Regions from separate parts of the Homo sapiens genome. Here region 2 is linked to region 1. The links are contacts of gene promoters, found by promoter capture Hi-C in blood cells and fetal thymus (Javierre and others, 2016). All regions are on one chromosome and are shown on one strand. The core of a region is centred on a gene start or on the middle of the fragment in contact, and the rest is flanking DNA. Distances in the headings are between cores, read along the strand shown.

Region 1 (5,019 bases), core at 2,224-4,723:
AAAAAAAAAAAAAGCTCTGAAAAAGTAATAATACGACAATAAAAAAAACAAAAAAAATAGCATAACCACTATCTACATAGTATTTACATTGCATTAGGTATTATAAGTAATATAGAGATGACTTAATGTATAATGGAGATGTGCCTCGGTTATATGCAAATACTAGGCCATTTTTTTTTTCTTTCTTTTTTTTTTTCTTTTGAGACAGGGTATTGCTCTGTTGCCCTGGCTGGAGTGCAGTGCTCATTCCAGCTCACTGTAACCTCAAACCCATGTGCTCAAGGGATCCTCCTGCCTCAGCCTCCCCAGTAGCTGGGGCAACAGGCACATGCCACCATGCCTGGCTAATTTTTAATTTTTTTGTAGAGAGCCTTGTTTCCCAAGCTGCTGCACTATTTTCTATAAGGGACTTGAGTATCTGGAGATTTTGGTCTTCATGGGGGTCCTGGAACCAATCCCTCATGGATGCGTGAGGGATGACTGTATATCATACACACATAAAGTTTACTGGCTTCTGCAAACAAATTTTGAGCCCATTAACCAACCAGCCTGGTCAACGAATGTACATCTAAAGTAAGATATATACGTGCTAAAATTGTTTTTAACTAAAAATGCCATATGTAGTGTAGAAATGAAAACTAGACACTATTTCATTCGCATCCATTGAGATAATAGTGGTGAGCACTTAGGATAAGCACCAGGCTTGACTTGCTGCTCTTGTCACTTGTCCTTGGAAATTTAGGCTCTATTACACCACCAACTCTCAAATCATTTCCCTGTTGTAGAGCTAAACTTGACGTCCTACAGAATTTCTCTAACTTAACATGTTGAGTCTCTGAGAGTGCAAAACTTGAAACAAGAGAAAGTGGCCTGCCTGGCATCCTCTGCTTATTGAATGGTTTTATTTAATTCTCCTTTACATTGCCACCTTAACAATCCTTCCAGCTACGTATCTTAAAGGATGTGATGGAGAAGTTATCAACTGGTGTTTTCAGGTACGCTAAAGTAACCAAATCATTGTTCTTGTTTGTTTTTCTATTTTCAGGGAGCTAAGGCAGGCAGTCCCACTTTTGTTTTAGCTCTCGCCATGTACCTGTTGCCTCCATATTTTATTATTAGGTTGGTGCAAACATAATTGTGGTTTTTGCCATTGAAAGTAATGGCAAAAACTGCATTTACTTTTGCACTGATCTTATATTTCGTTTAAATAGCTGCTCTTTAATATTTATCAAAGTGTATCTGGTGGTACACCAGTAGGTACTCGCAGAGATAGAAGTGGCTTGTGAGTTTTCCTCACTCCATTATGTAGTGTACCTCACCCTTTGCTTTTCCTCATCACCCCTCCCAAAGCAACTTGAAGTAACCAATAGCTTGAAGGAGAGAAAACCATGGTATATTTGTTTAAAGTTGAATATGTTTATCAGTTATAAAAGAGGGAGTAGGCCAGGCGTGGTGGCTCACGCCTGTAATCCCAGCACTTTGGGAGGCTGAAGTGGGTGAATCACCTGAGATCAGGAGTTCGAGACCAGCCTGGCCAACATGGCAAAACACTGTCTCTACTAAAAAATAGAAAAATTCGCTGAGCGTGGTGGCGAACGCCCATAATCCCAGCTACTGGGAGGCTGGGGCAGGAGAATTGCTTGAACCTGGGAGGTGAAGGTTGCAGTGAGCCGAGATCACACCATTGCACTCCAGCCTGGGCAACAAGAGAAACTCCGTCTCAGAAAAAAAGAGGGAGTAAATAAAGTAGATAATTTTTTTCCTTCAAAACTTAACCACTTTTAACATTGGAAACACTAATGGACGAATTTGTTTGAATTACTTAAAGTAATAGATTTGAGGCCGGGTGCAGTGGCTCATGCCTGTAATCCCAGCACTTTGGGAGGCTAAGGTGGGTGGATCACTTGAGGCTAGGAGTTCAAGACCAGCCTGGCCAACATGGTGAAACCCATCTCTACTAAAAATACAAAAATTAGCCAGGCTTGATGGTGCATGCCTGTAATCCCAGCTACTCAGGAGGCTGAAGTATGAGAATTGCTTGAACCCGGGAGCCGGAGGTTGCAGTGAGCTGAGATCGTGCCACTGCACTCCAGCCTGGATGAGAGAGCCAGACTCTGTCTCAAAAAATTAATTAATACACTAATAGATTTGAGCACTAGCATTTGTCATATACCACCCTGTTTGTTCTACTTATCTTTAACTAGACCTGACATTTCTAATTTCATTCCTTCTCAGACCTCAGTTGGATGAACCCATTCCACTGTATGAGGCAAAAGTTTCCATGGAAGCTGTTCAGAAAAATCAAGGAAGAAAAAAGCAAGTTGTTCAATTTTAATTTTCTTCTTTCTCAGACCTCAGTCGGATGAACATATTCCAGTATTTGAAGCCAGAATTTTCTTTGGAAATTGTTGAGAAAAACCAAGGAAGATAAAACAAGTTGCATTTTTAAGCACGTTTCTCTGCTAAGACAAGATGCTCAGTTGACACATTTGAAAAGTGTTTGAAAAATTCTTGTGCAAATGATCAAGATAATTCTATAATTAACATCTTAAGGGAATTTTTCTAAAAACCTTTTCATTGTTTCTATATATTTTGCCCCTGCTATAAAATTCCTTCCATGAAGAAAACTGCTGCTTTCAGCAAAAGTCACACTACTCTTGATAAAAGCTGTTGCAGGCCTTTGCTAAGCTATCAAAGTAACGTATTAATTTTGTATCAACTCCGTTCTCAACACCTTCCTTAAGTCTTTGCTGTCATAATTTAAGCATTTGAGTATATTTTGAAGTCTTAAAAGACTTAGCCCATAGGCACTTAAATTTTGTGTTTTCAACTATTCATTCACTCCGGCTTTCCCCAGGATCAAAGAAGATCCCATTAACTTGCCAGTGGCAGCTGCCTGGAAGTCTGAGATGACCAGGCACTGGGAACGGGGAAGGGAGGGATGTCGGTAGGCTGCGCTGGCATAGGAAGCGTGCTGACGTCTTATCTGAGTTCTCTGGGGGTTGAGGAAGGTGGCCTAGTCCCCTCTCCTCGCCTCTTGAGAGCAGTAGCCACTGCCCTCTCTTAAGTTTATGGAAGCAGCAGCCCATCGCCGCAGCTCAAGTTTGTTTCCTTTTCATCCAGGCGCCAAACCCCGGGCTGATCACATCCCTGCTGCGGGCTTAAATAGAGTTAAGCTATTTCGGTGCCCCACAGGGTAGTGCACATCAGCGCCCTGGATCGCATACTTTCCAGAAGCGTCGCTGAACCTGGCGACTGGACTCTGGCCGAGGACCTGGCAGAAGCGCCAGGGCAGGGTCACCGCTGGGACAGTGGGCGTTGACGGCCACCCGGGATCGCCGCTGCGGGCTGCGTCTCGCGGGCTGCCCACTGCGCATGCTCCGCTCGGAACCGGCGGGGGCGGAGGCGGGGCCGCGTCGGGGGCGGGAGCTCGGCGAGGCGCCACGTCAGGGGCGGGCCCGGCGCGCGCGGGAAGTCTCTGTAGGGCGGCCGGCTACCCTCAGCCGCCGCGCGTCATGGCCCTTTCGGTGCCCGGCTACTCACCGGGCTTCCGAAAGCCGCCCGAGGTAGTGCGGCTCCGACGGAAAAGGGCCCGGAGCCGTGGAGCTGCCGCCTCCCCGCCCCGTGAGCTGACGGAGCCGGCGGCCCGCCGAGCCGCCCTGGTGGCGGGGCTGCCTCTTCGCCCTTTCCCTGCTGCGGGGGGCAGAGGCGGTGGCAGCGGCGGCGGCCCGGCCGCTGCTCGGAGGAACCCCTTCGCCCGCCTGGACAACCGACCGCGGGTCGCCGCGGAGCCCCCCGACGGGCCGGCCCGCGAGCAGCCGGAGGCCCCGGTCCCGGTGAGTGTCTTGTAGCCTGGCCGCCAAGGGGCTCTTGTCTTTCGTGGGTTGAGCCAGCTGTGAATGGGGGATGGAAAGTCCTCGCGTTCGAGGCAAGGAAATGGGCGCGAAGACTTCGGCCGCCCGTGGCCTTAGGGTACCCCGCCCTGGGAGCCGCGATTCTGGCAAGGCCGGGTTTGTGGGAAGAGCGCTCCCCTGGCTACCCCGCTGCGGGCTGTGCTCACGGGACGCGTTCCCGAGGAAAGTGAGGGGGCCCCAGAGGGCAGCGAGGAGCCCCTTGGAGAGGACTTAGAGGTGACTTGGAAAAGAGCTCGAAAAACCCTGAGAGCCCCCATCTTGCAAGGACGCTGTTCGATGGGGCAGGTGACAAGCCCTGCTTCCCCCGTGATTTAGGGCCTCCCTTCTCTCACGCACTCCAAATTATTCTGGAGATGGGGGAATGTCGAGGATTCGTGGGGTCAGAATTCACTAGCATCTGTCTTACCCAAAGCCTTTTGGATCTTTCGGTTTGAAACGCCGGTCCCTGTTCCCCTCAATTTTGATACTAAAGTTCAGACACAAAACTGAAGTGTTGAAACTCATAGATTGGATGGGGTGCCTCTGAATTTAGGTGTACTTGCGTTTATTGAGAAACATGTATGCCAGGTGAGGCTCTGTACATATTTAACGCAAACTTCAGCATCCTTTAAATTTTAAAGGAGAATATATTTAACCTCAGTTTTTAGATTCTAATCAAGAAAATGATTTGCTATGGGAAGAGAAGTTTCCTGAAAGAACAACTGTTACTGAATTACCTCAGGTAATACTTTTTAAATATCATTAGAATGTGTATTTGTATAAACTTTTTTTTCATAGGATTTGAGCCTATTTTTAAAAATACATTTATACTTCTCAGAAGCATTTTGCTTGGAAAGTAGTTTTACAGAGAGGCTTGATCATCTCAACCAGGGATGAAAATACCGCATCAGCCAAGGTAAAGGAGTTGGTTTGATACAGTAATGATGACTGTAAAGATAGCCAGCGCTAAAATAGGCCTGATAGACGTGGGGGTTTTCTTTTACTCTCTAACAGTTTTTACCACTCTTCTTTGGGCAGTTGACTTCTCCAGTTCATCACTCAGAGCCAGCCCTCCTGGCCCACCTCCACAGGTTGTGGCATAGCACTGAACCTCGTTGCTCCTCTC
Region 2 (5,026 bases), core at 950-3,449, 760 kb after region 1:
TATAAAAACAGACATTTATTCCTCATGGTTCTAAAGGCTGGAAGTTCAAGATCAAGGTGCCAGCAGATTTGATGTCTGGTGAGGGGCACTTTCTGGTTCATAGATGGTGCCTTCTTGCTGTGTCCTCACATGATGGAAGAGAGAAAACGCTGGTCTCTCAGCTTCTTCTAAGGGCACTAAGTCCCATTCCTGAAGGCTCTACCCTTATGACGTAATCGCCTTCCAAAGGCCCTGCTTTCTAATACCATCGTCTCAAGAGTTAGAATTTCAACCTGTGAATTTTCAGACCAAAGCAAGAATATAAAGCACTCAAAAACAACCTCAGATATATATATAGAGAGAGAAAGAGAGACATTTTATATTTGCATATCAATAAATAGAACTGGGAAAATTAGTTTTTCATATAAAAAGTTATACCTAAATCATGCCATACTCAAAATTAATTATAGATAGATTTAAAACTCCAATGTGAAAAGGAAAGCTTTAAAACTTTGGGAAGAAAATATCAAAAATATCTTTATAAATTCAGAATAGTGAAGGACTCTGGGGCCAGGCTATCTGGGTTCCAGTCTCAGCTCTATGACTTACTAGCTGTGTGAGCTTGGACAGTTTCTCCCTACTCTTTACTTTCCACGTATGAAAAATAAGGAGAATAATGGCACCTTCTCACAGGGTCATTGAGAGGATTAAATGAATAATATGCATAAACTGTTTAAAATACTGACTGACACTTATTAAGTGCTATATGGGTTTTTGTTGTTTTATGAGTAGTACTGGTAGTTGTTATAAGGGACAGATACTTTCCAGTTGGAAGATATATGTTTTTAAAAGTTCAGAAAGTCTAGTAATTAAGGGAAGAAATGGATAATCAATATTGAAAGATAGCAAAAAAGAAAAATATAATAAAGAAAGGACAAATTAAGAATTTGTGAGCCCCTCATGTAAAAAACCAGACTAATGTAAATAAGCTGAATTACTCTATTAATCATTTAATCTGTGTATGTCTCCCCCACTGACCCCCAAGCTGTCCCTAACCAAGAATACCATGGGATTGTGTTCTTGTCTGCTTTCTTCCTGCTGTACTTCCACATTCTGAAATGCATTCCACAGGCAGGTGCATCTTGGGTTTCCAATAAAAATCAACCGACCAAGGGGGCGGAATCTCCAGGCTTGAACCCTCAAATACAGACAGGATTATGTGTTCTTTTTCTATTGGGAGGCATAGTTTTCTGGTAGGATACTGGCAAATCAGAAACAGCAAAACAGAGTCTTCTCAGGAGTTCAATAGACTTTGCAGCAAGACTCTTTTATATGCTCAAAATTTAAAATCATTCATGCACTTCTTCATTTTTAAAAAATAGTCTTTTAAGTTTATAGTATTTTCTTATGTTTTTCCAATATTGAAAAACTGCAATGTACAGTATTCTTATTCTCCTGCCAAAACAAATAGCATATTATTGCAGCTGTAACATTTTATGTCTTTGCCACAATAACTGTGGTTTTCCGCAGTAATTTTGCTATTATGCTATGATTTTTATTAGAAAATGTATTACTGCCATCTTAATTTTCTTAGCCAGTTTAACACATTTATGGCTTTTCTGCTTTGGCAAAGTGGTATTTCAAATACTGAAGAATAACTTTTTTAAATTCTATAAATCCTGGATGAAATTTAAACCATAAATTTCATTTCTGAATAATCAAATCAGAACATTACTGCAACTGTGTCATCGCCTAAAGCCAGTAATATTCCATGAGTTTGTAATAACATTATTTTGAGCAAGTCACACAAGGGGTAGTTTAGTGATCTGAAATGTCCAGGGTTTGCTATTTTTTCCCCAATAGTCCTTTTTTTTTTTTCTAAGATGGAGTCTCACTCTGTTTCCCAGGCTGAAGTGCAGTGGCATGATCTCAGCTCACTGCAAACTTCGCCTCCCGGGTTCAAGCTATTCTCCTGCCTCAGCCTCCCAAGTAGCTGGGATTACAGGCTCCTGCCACCACACGCAGCTAATTTATGTATTTTTAGTAGAAGACGGGTTTTCACCATGTTGACCAGGCTGGTCTTGAACTCCTGACCTCATGATCTGCCCTCCTCAGCCTCCCAAAGTGCTGGGAGGCGCAAAGTGCAGGCGTGAGCCACCATGCCCAGCCTCTTCCCCAATATTCTTGAAGAGATTTATAACAACACCGAATCTCAGATTTGATGGCTACCTGTTGAGAGAAATCAAGGAATGAGGAAGAATTTGAATGAGGAATGCAGGTGGCCTTTCTCGCCATCCTTTTGCCTAGTGGCCCCCTTTTTCACCAAGACAAGAGGCTGGTTTTTGTTTCTGGTTTTATCACATCAGACTCTGGCTCATAGCAAAAGCAGTCAGTCTCCTGTTGCTGCTTCATGGATAGCGCCTCTAACAGGCATTAATTTTTTGTTGTTGTCGTTATGGAGGAGTGTCAGCATACACTCTAATAGAACAGTCTGGAAAGACAAGTGTTGTTGGTAAACCCTAGGGACGTGAGAATCAAGTGTCACCAGTAGGTGGAGGACTTGATCAGAAATACACATGCCTTGGGGCCTATACGGAGTTGCCTGCTCAGCTATGGTTTGAAGCAGAATCTGAGGGGATGCTCATGGTCCAGTTTGGCAAATATCAGGGTGTGGTTATTTAGATGAGGCACAAGACTAACTGGAAGTGTGGGACATAAGTGAAAGATGGCACCAGGAGGTTGAAACTGTCCCTTAAACTGAGTCCTACAGGCACCCTCCCTTGGGTGACGGAGCCCCAGTTATTCCTGTGCACCCTCATAGTCTTCTGAGCCAGGGCCCTCTCCCCAGCTAGGTGGCTGATGCCCCAGAACACACCGTATGTGAAACTGTCAGTGGATTCCAGGCACCCGTCCTTTAGTAGGCAGCTAGCAGATCCCCAGCTTAGCAGAAGGCACAGGTTTGGTGGAGACTCAGAAACTAAGCCCAGCAAGTTCCCTCATCAGTGGCTCTCCACCTGGATACATAAACAACTTTTACAATGGTTGTTTAAATAACAGAGCTAGTTCGTCGCCCAGATCTCCTGTGTGTCCTCTCCGTCTTTTTTTTTTTTTTTTTTTTTTTTTGAGACGGAGTCTCGCTCTGTTGCCCAGACTGGAGTGCAGTGGCACGATCTCGGCTCACTGCAAGCTCCGCCTCCCGGGTTCACGCCATTCTCCTGCCTCAGCCTCCCGAGTAGCTGGGACTATAGGCGCCCACCACCATGCCCAGCTAATTTTTTGTATTTTTATTAGAGACAGGGTTTCACCGTGTTAGTCAGGATGGTCTCGATCTCCTGACCTCGTGATCCGCCCGCCTCGGCCTCCCAAAGTGTTGGGATTACAGGCGTGAGCCACCGCGCCCAGCCTCCTCTCCCTCTTAGACATATATTTTGCACACTGAGCTATTTGCACAATCAGGATTAACAAGCAAATAGCTGATGGAGGAAGGGTGAATTGGCTCTCTCTGCTTCAGCTGGGACATCCGTCTTCTTCTGCCCTTGGACATCAGCTCTCCAGCTTCTCGGGTCTTTGGGCTCAGACTTAGACTCACATCATTGGTTCCTCTGGGTCTCAGGCTTTTGGGCTGGGACTGAAACTATACCACTGGCTTTCCTGGACCTTCAACTTCCAAATGGCAGATGGAGGGACTTCTCAGCCTCCACAATTATGTGAGCTAATCCCTCATAATAAATCCCTTTCTTTACATCTATATATAGCCTATCAGTTCTGTTTATCTAATACATTTCCTTTCTGATTTCTTCAATTACTTCTTCTTTACAGCTTTAATGAGACATAATTCAAATACTACACAATTCACCCATGTAAAGTGCAAACTTCGTTGGTTTTAGTGTATTCACAGAATTGTGTAACCATCACCACAATCAATTTTAGAAGCTTTTCATCACCCCAAAAATAAACCCATGCCCATTAGCAGTCATTCCCCATTTCATCTCACCTCCAGCCCTAGGAAATCACCAATCTATTTTCTGTCTCTATGGATTTTCCTATTCTGGACATTTCATATAAATGAAATCATACCATATGTGGTGCTTTCACACTGGCATTTTGCACTTAGATAATGTTTCAAGGTTTATCCATGTGGCAGTATGTATCAGTACATCATTCTTTTTCGGTGCTGAATAATATTCCATTGTGTGGATATACCACATTTTATTTATCTATTCATCAGTTGATGGACATGGGTTGTCACCACTTTGGGGTATGATGAATAATGTTGCTATGAACATTCATGTACAAGTTTTTGTGTGAACATGTATTTCACTTCTCTTGGGTACATACCTCCCAGTGGAATTGCCTGGTCATATGGTAACTCTATCTTTAACCTTTCAAGGAACTGTCAGACTGTTTTCCGAGGTGGCTGCACCATCTATGACAGGCTGAGCATCCCTAATCTTAAAATTTCACATCCAAAATACTCCAAAATCTGAAAATTTTAAGCACCAACATGATGCCACAAGTGGAAGATTTCTCACCTGACCTCGTGTGATGGGTCGCAGTCAAAATGCAGGTGCACAATGCTGAAGATAACATAGTTAACACTGCAGAAAAATTGCCTCTAGACGACATAATGAAAACGTGTGATGGGCTCATTGAAGGACTAGAGCACCACGCATTCATAACAGAACAATAAATCATATCAGGTTTATAAAGTCAAAGAGAGACTTCTAAGACAAGAACAATTTACGCTTGACATTTATGCTTTAACGAGGCAGTTGATTCTGGAGGAAACATCTTTAAAAGCCATCCATCAGAATGCCTCCTGAGCCCCAGAGGACCCACTTCCTGGTCTCTCAATTGCTTCTGAAGTTTCTTCTCATCTAAAAAAATAAAATACAGTGCACAGTAACCTTTTCATCAAAACACAGCATCGTAGGTGGAGCCTGAAAACCTGCTGTTGTTTGTTGCTACTGCTGTTAAGCAGCTGATTCAGCTATTCCAGGGATGCTACTGAGCAGCTTGGTTGCCCTGAACACATTATGTTTTCACT

Evidence for each region. The method cuts DNA at HindIII sites, captures the fragments that hold promoters and counts their contacts. A CHiCAGO score of 5 or more calls a contact.
Region 2: a contact is called between a fragment that was not itself captured here and the fragment with the promoter of DONSON in region 1, in 1 of 17 cell types (total B cells). The highest score is 6.9, in total B cells.

The regions. Positions count from the first base shown.
Region 1 is chr21:33,587,138-33,592,156 of GRCh38, reverse strand. It overlaps DONSON (DNA replication fork stabilization factor DONSON), which reads left to right and starts at 3,473. Exons shown (of 10, transcript NM_017613.4): 1 at 3,473-3,836; 2 at 4,555-4,635. The coding sequence starts at 3,516. It overlaps CRYZL1 (crystallin zeta like 1), which reads left to right. Exons shown (of 13, transcript NM_145858.3): 12 at 950-995; 13 at 2,236-2,816. The coding sequence ends at 2,335. RefSeq lists an enhancer at 3,285-3,784 and a silencer at 3,243-3,932. The HindIII fragment of the contact is 12,197 bases long and covers 1-5,019 here.
Region 2 is chr21:32,824,287-32,829,312 of GRCh38, reverse strand. No RefSeq gene overlaps it. Among named protein-coding and RNA genes, the nearest start is that of EPCIP, 13 kb to the right of the region's middle. The HindIII fragment of the contact is 3,431 bases long and covers 484-3,914 here.